Regions from separate parts of the Homo sapiens genome. Here regions 2 and 3 are each linked to region 1. Evidence: promoter capture Hi-C in human tissues and cell types (Jung and others, 2019). All regions are on one chromosome and are shown on one strand. Each heading gives the region's core, a stretch centred on a gene start or on the middle of the fragment in contact. The rest is flanking DNA. Distances are from core to core; before and after follow the strand shown.

The links. The method cuts DNA at HindIII sites, captures the fragments that hold promoters and counts their contacts. A contact is called where the count stands out against the background at its distance.
Region 2: a contact is called between a fragment that was not itself captured here and the fragment with the promoter of FOXG1 in region 1, in 4 of the 25 tissues and cell types used here (IMR-90 fibroblasts, dorsolateral prefrontal cortex, lymphoblastoid cells and 1 more).
Region 3: a contact is called between a fragment that was not itself captured here and the fragment with the promoter of FOXG1 in region 1, in 2 of the 25 tissues and cell types used here (mesendoderm cells and thymus).

What each region holds. Positions count from the first base shown.
Region 1 is chr14:28,764,596-28,768,036 of GRCh38, reverse strand. FOXG1 (forkhead box G1) reads right to left here and starts at 1,250. Exons shown (of 1, transcript NM_005249.5): 1 at 1-1,250. The coding sequence starts at 757. It overlaps FOXG1-AS1 (FOXG1 antisense RNA 1), which reads left to right and starts at 2,718. Exons shown (of 7, transcript NR_125758.1): 1 at 2,718-2,877. RefSeq lists an enhancer at 1,595-2,119. The HindIII fragment of the contact is 7,501 bases long and covers 1-1,801 here.
Region 2 is chr14:29,031,300-29,034,727 of GRCh38, reverse strand. All of the region lies in intron 2 of LINC02326 (long intergenic non-protein coding RNA 2326), which reads left to right. All of the region lies in intron 5 of LOC107984685 (a long non-coding RNA gene), which reads right to left. Among named protein-coding and RNA genes, the nearest start is that of LINC02326, 32 kb to the left of the region's middle. The HindIII fragment of the contact is 5,798 bases long and covers 1-3,428 here.
Region 3 is chr14:29,074,574-29,078,171 of GRCh38, reverse strand. The region is part of intron 8 of LOC107984685 (a long non-coding RNA gene); the gene reads right to left. Among named protein-coding and RNA genes, the nearest start is that of LINC02326, 11 kb to the right of the region's middle. The HindIII fragment of the contact is 7,574 bases long and covers 1-3,598 here.

The sequences.
Region 1 (3,441 bases), core at 1-2,500:
TGCCCTTGCCCGGGTCGTCGTAGTGGCGCGGCACCTTCACGAAGCACTTGTTGAGGGACAGATTGTGGCGGATGGAGTTCTGCCAGCCCTGCTTGTTCTCGCGGTAGTAAGGGAAGTTCTTCATGATGAACTCGTAGATGCCGTTGAGCGTGAGCCGCTTCTCGGGGCTCTGCCGGATGGCCATCATGATGAGCGCGTTGTAGCTGAACGGCGGCTTCTCGTACTTGCCGTTCTTCTTCTCGCCCTCCTTGCCCCCCTCCCCGTCCTTGCCGCCCTCGCCCGCCCCCTTCTTCTCCTCCCCCCCGGCGCCGGCGCCCTTCTCCTTCTCGTCCGGCCCGACGGGCGCCAGCTCCCCCGGCCCGCCGCCCGGCTCGCCCTTGCCGCCCAGCCCGTCCGCTTTAGCCCCGTCCAGGGCGGCGGCCGGTGGTGGCGGTGGCGGCGGCGGGAGCAGCAGCTGCTGGGGGCCCTTGTCGTCGTCGGCGGCCGGGGCGCCCCGCGTCTGGGGGGGCTGCGGTGCCGGGGGCGGCGGCGGCGGCGGCTGCTGCTGCTGCGGCGGCGGCGGCGGTTGCGGGGCGGGCGGCGGCGGGTGGTGGTGATGGTGGTGGTGGTGGTGGTGGTGCTGGGGGTGGTGGCTGTTGTGGTGGCCGTGGCTCGCGTGGTGGTTGTCGTTCTGGACCGCCTCGGGCACCAGGCTGTTGATGCTGAACGAGGACTTGGGGATCATTTTCACCTCTTTCCTATCTCCCATGTCCAGCATCACCCAGTCGTCGGGGGGAAACGGCGGCGGCGGCGCGGGAGCGGGACAGCGGCGCGGCGGGCGGCGGCGACCGGTGGGTGCCGAACGGGGCGCGGGGGGCGCGGGCGGCAGCGGCGGCACTGAGCGCTCCGGCAGCAGCGCAGTTGGACCGCAGGCTCGGGCGCTGGCAAGTCATGTAGCAAAAGCAGCAACCACCCCTCAGGAATTAGAAAAAAAAAAAAAAAGGAAAAGAAAAAAGAAAGAAAGAAAAAAGAAACAACCACCGCCCCGGGGGTGAAGCTCCCTCGCTCCCAACTGTACTTCTTGGTCTCCCCCCCCACCCCCCGCTCCCCCCCCCGCTGCTTCCTCCTCCTCCTCCTCCTCTCGCAGCAGCAGTCACAGCAGCAGCAGCAGCAGCCCAAAGGGGGGGAGAGCCGGGCGGCGGGCGGGCGCGTCCCGGAGCGGCCGCGGCGAGGCTGGGGAGACAGCGATCGAGGCGGCTATAGCCACAATTAATTTTCCGAGCTACAGGCGCACACTAGGGCTGTAAAAAAATTTTTGGTTTAACCTTTCCTACCGCTGGGCCAATCAGAGCTGGCGGCGTGCGGGAGCGTCTCTCTCGCCGTCGACCAATCGGAGGGGCCGGGCCCACCCACCCCCGCCCCGCCCGCCGGCTGCCGCCCCCTCGGGCGCTCGCCTCCCCCTCTCCGCGGGCCTCGGACCCCGAGGCCGCGCGGAGCCGCGTAGGGATACGCCGGCGGGAGCACGCGGTGCCGCAGCCCTTCCCTGCGCCCCCGCCACCCCCTCCACCCCGCCGGCTCCGCTCCACCGAAATTCCCCTCCTAGGGCCAATAGCTCACATTTCCGGCTTCCTCCTCATTGTACTGGGTCATTTTCGTTTAAGCGTCAATATTTGTCCTTAGTGATTAAAGTTTGTATCCAATTTTATTTTTGAAAGCGGGGGTGGTGGTGGTAGTGGGAAGAGTGGGAGTGCAGGGAGAGGATGCGAGAGGGCAGGAAATGGAGGAGGTAGAGGCGAGGCACTACTTTTCCGAGTCGGCCTTGCAGGCCAGTGTCTGGCATTTCTGAGCCAGCAGGAAAATTGTGCCCTTTGTAGGTAATAGTCTAGCGCAGCTTTGGATAAGGGGGGAGATAAGGCCCACCGCTGGCGTGTGTGCGGGGGTGTCCTTTACTTCGGGGGAGGAGGGTGTGGGAGAGCTTTGGGAGCGATGAGATGAGGAGGAGGAAGTGGGCAGAGGAGCGCGGGGCCAAACAGGGGTTACTTACTCGATTCCTGAGGCCTGGGCGGCGGCGAGCTCCGGGCTCCGGCACCGCGGGGAAACCGGGACTGGGGCTCCGGGTGCTGCTGCGGCGGCCGGGGCCGCTCAGTAGTGGGCGCCTCTGATGGCCTTCCGAAATGAGAGGTGCCCAGAGAGAAAACAGTACCAAACAATCTCGAAATAAATCAGGTAACACATGCTATATACGTGTGTCTCTTCCTTTTCCTTCTCTCCTGCTCCAGAGCGTCGCTCACGCGCGGGGTGACTCGATGTCGTTTTCTCCTCGCCGCTCCAGCCTCAGCTTCTAATCCGAATTGGAAGCGGGTAGCTGCGAGCGATCACCCTGGAAATATTTTCGTTTTGCTTGTTGACATTGGAGGGAAAATAAGGGTGGGCGTCTATTTCTTTCCGGTTTTTTTTTTAAGCCTTCCTATTTTCACTCCTTTTTTTTCCTTTCCGTTTCTCAAATGCTTTTATTTTGTGCGGGCCTCATTCCTGAAATAACAGTATACTGAAGCCAGCTCTTGCCAACCCTGAGTGCTGCTGGAAAGCACCGGGGAGCCTTGGGAACGTGGATCTCACAGTCCCAGCTTCTTGGGCTTTGGAACTGGGAAGGTTCGGTTGGAGGTTGAAGTGAATGGGGAAATTGCGAATCGGGGGCTTTAAAAGGATCCCGTGGCCAGGGGCAGGGCTAAGGCCCAGCATTTCCCAGGGATTGGAATTTAGTGGGGAGCACATTGATCAAAGGCTGTTTCATCCCACATGGGCACGAAACATACCACATTTTACGGAGGATGTAGCCCCAGAGAAGAGGGAGGTGGAGAAGCATAAATGAAAGGCACCTTTTCCTTCCTCTAGAAGGTAAATAATTATAAAATGTAAGCATTTCTTCACTTGGATAAACTTTCATTAAGATATCTGGCAGATTTGGTATTTAAGAAAACGAAGGAAGGAAAATTGGTGCTTATGCTTGATCCTAAAGTTAAATTGTAACATAAAGAATGCGGTTGATGAATACTCAGGATAATAGGGGGTTATTCCATCCTCCCCACCCCCAGTCTTAAGAAAGAGAAAGAGAGAAAAGGTTGGGGGGGGGGGAGGAAACTGGAGAGAATAATAGATAATTACAAATAGCTAGTGAATTTTAAATATGCATCTATTAGGAATGCCACAAAGGAGCTTTGAATATTGGACTAACCTCAAATGTCCTTCCACTGTATGTATGTATCTTTACCTATGTCTACATATCTTCTCACTTTAAAACAAACTGTATTTACATGTGGAAAAATTCAAGGGTTCCAACAATCAGTGTTGATAGTGACATGGTCCCAAACATTTATTTCCAAGCTCTGGATTTCTCGCAGGGCCGGGTGAGCTAATGGGCTTTGCCTACCGGCTGGAGAGATTTGTGGGCCTTCCCCTTCC
Region 2 (3,428 bases), core at 628-3,127, 270 kb before region 1:
GGTGTGATTTTAGGGCCCAGAATTTTAACTATAACTTTACACATCTTTAATAAGAAGACTCATGTTCCTGTGACCAGTATTCATGACAAATGGTAATTCTAATTAAAAAAAAAAAAAAAACAGGTTTACTCTACCATTAACAGAGAGAGGCTTTTTTTTCTCAGAAAGGAAAATATTTTAACTGAAAAACCAGTACCATATGGCAAGGAAATACATGCCTCTGTATAAAAGCCTCACCCTCTAATGCTCTTTACTGATGTTCTGTTTGGATATTTGCTGATGATTTTTGTATGTCCTATTTGCCCTAATACATTGTGGATCTTTATAAAGCAACCAGCACATAAAATATCCTTGCCTAGATATTTTAAGTCTAGGATTTTATAATTGTAAAGCTAATTTCCATAATAGATTCAAAAGATTTTTAAAATGAAATTTCTGTCTTCCCATAATTATGTAACTCACCAAAGCATTTTTATGTGTGTCCTTAAAAATGTTAACAGTCTGAATGTTCAAGTTGTTGCTTCACTAACCAATATAGCTAATATAAAAATATATATGGCACAAAGATTGACCTTATTCTTCTGCTCAGAGAAGCTTCTGTGATGGCTAAGACTCTAGCCAGTATTGAAATAAAGAAGATTGAAATACGAATTATGTCTTGTCTTTGCTGGGTTGGAGCGATCTATGAGAATATTCCAGAAGGTTCACTAGCCAGTTTTGACAGAGTCTGTTGGTTCTCCATGTATTCCTTTACATTTCCTAGCTTCCCCTGCAGTTAGGTTGAAACTATGTGACATGTTTTAGACACTAGACTATGAGCAGAAGAGTCACTTCTGGTTTCAGAGACGTGTTGCCTCCATTTCTCCCTGCCTCTCCTCCAGTGGTTTTACAGTCTCTCTGTTCCAGACCAGGACTACAAGATAATAGGGCCCTCTGTGCACCATTGCTAGCTCTTATTAGACATGTAAGGTTGGATGTGGTAAGGCACCGAGATATTGGGGTTGATTTGTTACAACATAACTTAGCCATGCTTAATGAAAATGAAGATGAATTTCACTTAGACAAATGTGGAAGATAGGGGTGGTGTAAGAATTTATTATACATTCAGATAAGCAAACTCAGTGGACTTCCTGTGTATATTTCCCACATCTAAAATCACATCCTTTAAATAACCAAAAAAGTACACTTAAAAAAAATCCTTTTCTGTTTCCTTTTCAACCCAAATAATTAACATCTTGGAATAGATGTTATGAAATATATAGATAATTACAGGTACAAACATGAAGAAAAATTCAAGAGGAAAACTTCTTGGAACAAGAAAAATTTCAGTAAAACTCATGTAACTTTGACTACCTGTGCCTAGTGAAACTGCCACATTTGTCTAATTTTAAATTCATCCTATGACCAATCATTGTGCTCAAGAGTTACCTTCACTTCAGTGGATGCTGTGGCACAATAGATAAATCCCTTCTTTAAAACTAAGGTGCTCACTCCTCCAGCTGCAGGAGAGTTGCTGCTGAGAGCTCACAGCTGAGTCTCTCCCCAGGATTTGCCCTCGACTGAAGAGAGCTGCCTGTTCAAAGTCTGCCCCTTCCCTGGGATAGCCTACTCCCAAAGACTTGTGGGCATGGTGGGTACAAAGGCCTTGCCTCTTTTTGCCTCTGTTTGGAACATCTTTGAACTGCTATCCCCATCAGATGTGTTGGGGCCTCTGTTACACCTTTACTACATTTTAACTCTTCCCTTGGCAAACTCTATTTTCCTTTCTACCTAGTATATGTTATTCCCAAGAGCTCTCCCCAGTAATCCTCCTGCAGATAGATCTCTGTTCTGAGTCTTTTTCCTGAGGAACTCAACTTATGCTATCTGTAAGGCACATAACAGAATTGCAGCTTACAATGAAAGGGTAGTTTGTGCATAAAGAGAATCTGAATCTTTTTCTTTTTTTAGGTATCTAAAGTAAATGGCCTTATGTATAATCCTGAATTATAAGTGAGTATTTTAATATAATTTTTACTTTGAAATAATTTTAGCTTTCCAGAGAAATTGCAAAATATTACAAAGAGTTCCTGTATATTTTAACCCACTTTTCCCAAATGTTAACACCTTACATTACCATAGTATAGTTGCCAAAACTAAGAAATGAACCTTGATGCATAACTATTAACTAACCACCAGATTTCATTCAAATTTCACCACTTTTTCCATTAATTGCCTCTTTCTGTTCCAGGATACATTCAGGATACAATATCACATAGAGACAATAGTCATTTTTGATTGGCAAAGTTAATGAAACAATTATATGCACATATGCCTGTATATATACAAATGACTTTAATGGCTAACAATATAAGAAATACTTTTTTAAATCTATATTTGTATAGCATACCAGTCTAATACTAATTAGCTGTTTGACTTTATGCATAGTTCTTCATTTCTCTGGGCCTCAGTTGACACATATATAAATAAGCAGGGTTAAATTTGATATCTTCTGTTCTTTCCATTTTTACATTCTGTGCTTCAATGCTGTTAAAGATGACGTGAAATTTTGTAGAACATTTAGCAGGAAAGAACATTTTCCTATTAAAAATTACAATTAAAACTGAAGATTTCTAATTAATGTAAATAAAGTGGGCATACCTCCATAAACTTGGTGGGATAAAAATTGATATAATTTTTATCATTAATTTGAATTTTTTAAAATGCCAGATAGTTCCCTTGAGCAACCAAAAAAATAAATAAATAAAAAACAAAAGATTGAGATAGAACAAGAAAAAGGTACACAGATGAAAAGATGAGAAAGCATTTGGAGTAATTCTTAGGAAAGTTTAGTGCAGAAGGAGAAGGCTCTTAAAGGTTCATAACTCATTAGTTAAGTATATTAATGTAGGGTTGGCAAAGAAATGGCCTGGACTGATAATGCTGGTGATTAGAAAACCTCAGAAGATGCCACATTCTGACCAACATTTAATTATTTTTTGTAAATAGAAAGCTAGTTCAATAGGTCAAAATGAGAATGGTTATTATTCTGCAGAAGAACATCAATTTCTTAAAAATAAATTATGTTAATTTCTAGGCTTGTTGTTGCAAATGAAGAAAAAACTATATAAAGAAGTACAGTACATGCTTTAATTCAAATCCTTTCCATTACAAGACTCATTTAATAAAACTCTACTTGTGACAGTCACTTGTAATTTGTAAATAAACATTAACTTAAATATGAACACTAAGTGATAGTGTGTATCTCGCTTGCAAAAGAAAAGCTGTAATATAAAGAGTGATTACTTATTTAAATATATTCTAAAATTATTGATGAAATTTTAAGTATTCATCTGAATCAATTTATTTACAAAAATAATGTGGTAAATTTCATGATTAATACAATTACAATAGGGTTCAGAGTTTAATTTCTAGCAATGAGCGTGTTT
Region 3 (3,598 bases), core at 593-3,092, 310 kb before region 1:
TTTTCTTCCTCTGGTCTATTTATTTACGGTTGGGCCAATGCCAGACTCTCTTGGTTAATGTGTCTTCAGTAGTTCTTGATATTCAATAGAACAGGTTTTTCCACCTTCTTCTTTTTCAAGAATGTTCTAGCTATTCTTGGTCTATGCATCTTCCTACTGTGAAACCACATTGTCAAGGGAAACCAGTGAGTGGGAGAAAATATGATATGTGTGTATGCGTATGTGTATGTGTATGTGTGTGCAGACACAACACACAGGGTGCTTATATCCAAAATGCATTAAAATAATTTTTTACAAAACTGCAACAAAAGTTATAAATATTTAAACCCATGGAAGCACAGTCAAAAGATCTGCAGACACTATGAAAGAGTAGATTCAAGTGACCAATAAAGATACTTTTAAAAAGATGGACAACTTCATTAATAATGAAAGAATGCAAATTAAATTGATAATGAGATTTCACTGCCAGTATAACAGAATGGATAAAATTTAAAAGTCTGATAATACCTAATGCTGACAAGGATACAAAAAATGGTAATTTTTATACAAATGGGTGATGGGCATACAAATGGGTGAAATAATTTTGGAAAAACAAATCACATTCTCTATCTTGATTTAAAGGTAATGATTAAGAGCAATTCCACTCCACTTTTACGCCGTTGAAAAGTGTACAGCTATGTAAATCAGTGGTGCTCAGTCAGGAGTGATTTTGTCCCCAAAATGTATCTGGTAACATCTAGAGACATATTTGACTTTCAAAATTTGGAGAGGAGGTGCTACTGGCATTTAATTGGTAGACACCAGTAATGCTGCTAGACATCTTACAACATACAGTAGAGACTCCCAACAAAAGAGAATTTTTAGACCAAAATGGCAATAGTGTCAAGGCTGAGATATCCTGATGTACATTAAAATATATGTATAGATTATTTATTAAAAACATTATTCATATTAGTCAAAAGTGGAAGAAAAAGCAAACGTATATCACAATTCAAATTTATAATTGAGATATATGCATACATTAGAATACTACACAGAAAAAAAAAACAGAAAATAAAGGTTTCGAATTAACCCTTTTTAAAATGTTGAGATAAGTATAGATTCACATGAAGTTCTAAGAAATCATATGGAAAGATCCTGTGTACTCTTCATTCAATTTCAATTTCAATCCCTGATAACCTCTTGTGAAAATAAGGAACAATGTCACAAGTAAAAAAAAAAAAAAAAACCACACACGCACACACACACAATATAATCCACTGATCTTTTTCATATTTTCCCAATTTTATACACATGTATGTGCATGTGTTTAATTAGCTGTATGCAATTTTAACAGATATGTATGTTTGTGTAAATGCCATCATATTAAATATGCAAAACAGTGCCATTGCCACAAGGATCTGTTGTGCTTCCTTTTTATAATCACATCCACCCCCCTTCTGCCATCTTTCCCATTCTTAACCTCTGACCATGACTAATCTGCTCTCTATCTTTATAATTTTGCCATTCAAGAATGTTAAATGAGTAGAATTATACAATATATTACCTTCTGGGATTGGCATTTTTCATTCATCATAATCCTTTTAAAGTTCATTGAAGTTGTTGCATTTATCAATAGCTTGTTCATTTTTATTTCTGAGTAATATTCTTTGATCTGGATGTACCACAGTTTGTTTAAACATTCACTCCATTGAAAGAGATTTGCGTTGTTTCCAGTTTTTAACTACTGTGAATAAAGCTGCTATAAACATTTGTATACTGGTTCTTACTTGAACATAAGTTTCTATTTCTCTGGGAGAAAGTGCTCAAGAGAGCAACTGCTGGATTGCATGTTTAATTTTATAAAAATAAAACCCTGCCCAACTGTTTTGCAGAATGTCTGTACCATTTTACATTCCCATCAGCAATGTATGAGTGATCAAGTTTCTTTGCAACCTTGCCAGCATTTCGTATTGCCATTACAGTTTGTTTAACCATTCTGATAGCTGTATAGTGTTGTCTCGTTGTGATTCAATTTGCAATTCCTTAATGGCTAGTAATGTCAAACATCTTTTTATGTGTTTATTTGCCATCCATATGAAAGATTTCCTAAAAAGCTTTGAGGTGAGATGTTGCCTAGCATGTCCTAGGACAGCCATTGTGGCTGGAGAAAAGATAATGGGAGGTAAAGTTGCAGGAAATGATGTCAGTGAAGTAGTGTGGCATGTGCCAGCTCATGTATTCTAGGTCATTGTAAGTACATTGGCTTTTGTCCTGAGTGAGAACTGATAAGTGGTATAAGATGAGTTATATTTTAACTGGATCATTCAATGTTCAACATTAACCAAAGGGACATAAGATGTAAAGATGGAGACTATGAAGCTGTGCAATTACTTGAGTAATAGCAATAGCTTAGATGGAAAGGGTAGCAGAAGTGGTGAGATGTTTTATTCAGTATATGTTTTGAAAGTAGAGTCAAAAGGAGTTTTATGATAGATTAAAGGTGGATGTAGAAAAGACTAAGATAACTCAAACTTTCTGGAGATACTTGTGATACATCCAAGTGGGCATATCTATGTAGCCAACTGAATATTTCAACAGCTGTCAGCAGAACTCAATATATTTCACCCAGTTGGCTTGAATCTGAAACATTCTCCTTTTTGCACTTCCATAAGAAAGTACTCTACTAGTTTCCTCTGCCTTATTGGATGCTCTTCTAAGACTTCTTTGCTGACTCTCTCTCTACCCTGCTCAGGGTCTATCCTAGACCTTCTTATCATTAATAATTAGATATCATCGATAGGATCTTGGCTCTTAAATATATATCTCCAGTATAGACAAAACCTTAAATTACAAACTAGTTTATGTGACTGCCTACTTAACCTCTCCATTTCAGTGTATGATAACTGTTTTAAATTTGGCAGACCTGAAATCAATCTTCTCTTTGCCAAACCCTGCTTTTCTCCTATCTTCCTGCAATGGCAACTCTATCTAGTTGTTCAGGAATGAAACCTATCTCTCATCCTATATATCTAAACAAATCTTATTTACTTGAAGTCCAAACATATCTCAAATTGACCCATTTATCCCCATCTGATTTGCTGCCATTCTTATTGGAGATATTATTATCTCTTTCTTAAACTTTTTATCATAGCCAGATAATTGATCTCTCTTCCTTCTACTCTTGCCCCATTTAAAACATACTCTGAGCGGCAAAGTTATCCTTTAAAAATATATATCATGCAATCATAAATAAACATAAAAGACAAAAGAAAGACTCTTGTTTATAGTAGAATGTTGAGTGCTGATTCATAAATATAAAGGGAGTGCTAGAGCTGTAAAATTATTACCTTGCAAATATCACTCCAAAGATTATTTCAGGCAGGAAACATCAACTGATGCTAAATTTAGAGGGCGTGGATTTTTTTTTTTTTTTTTCCTGAGACAGAGTATTACTCCGCTGCCCAGGCTGGAGTGCAGTGGCCGACTCTCGGCTCACTTCAACCTACGCCTCATGGGATCAAGGGATTCTTATGCCTCAGCTTCCCAAGTAGCTGGGACTACAGGTACGCACCACCATGTCCAGCTAATTTTTTGTATTTTCAGTAGAGACAGAGAT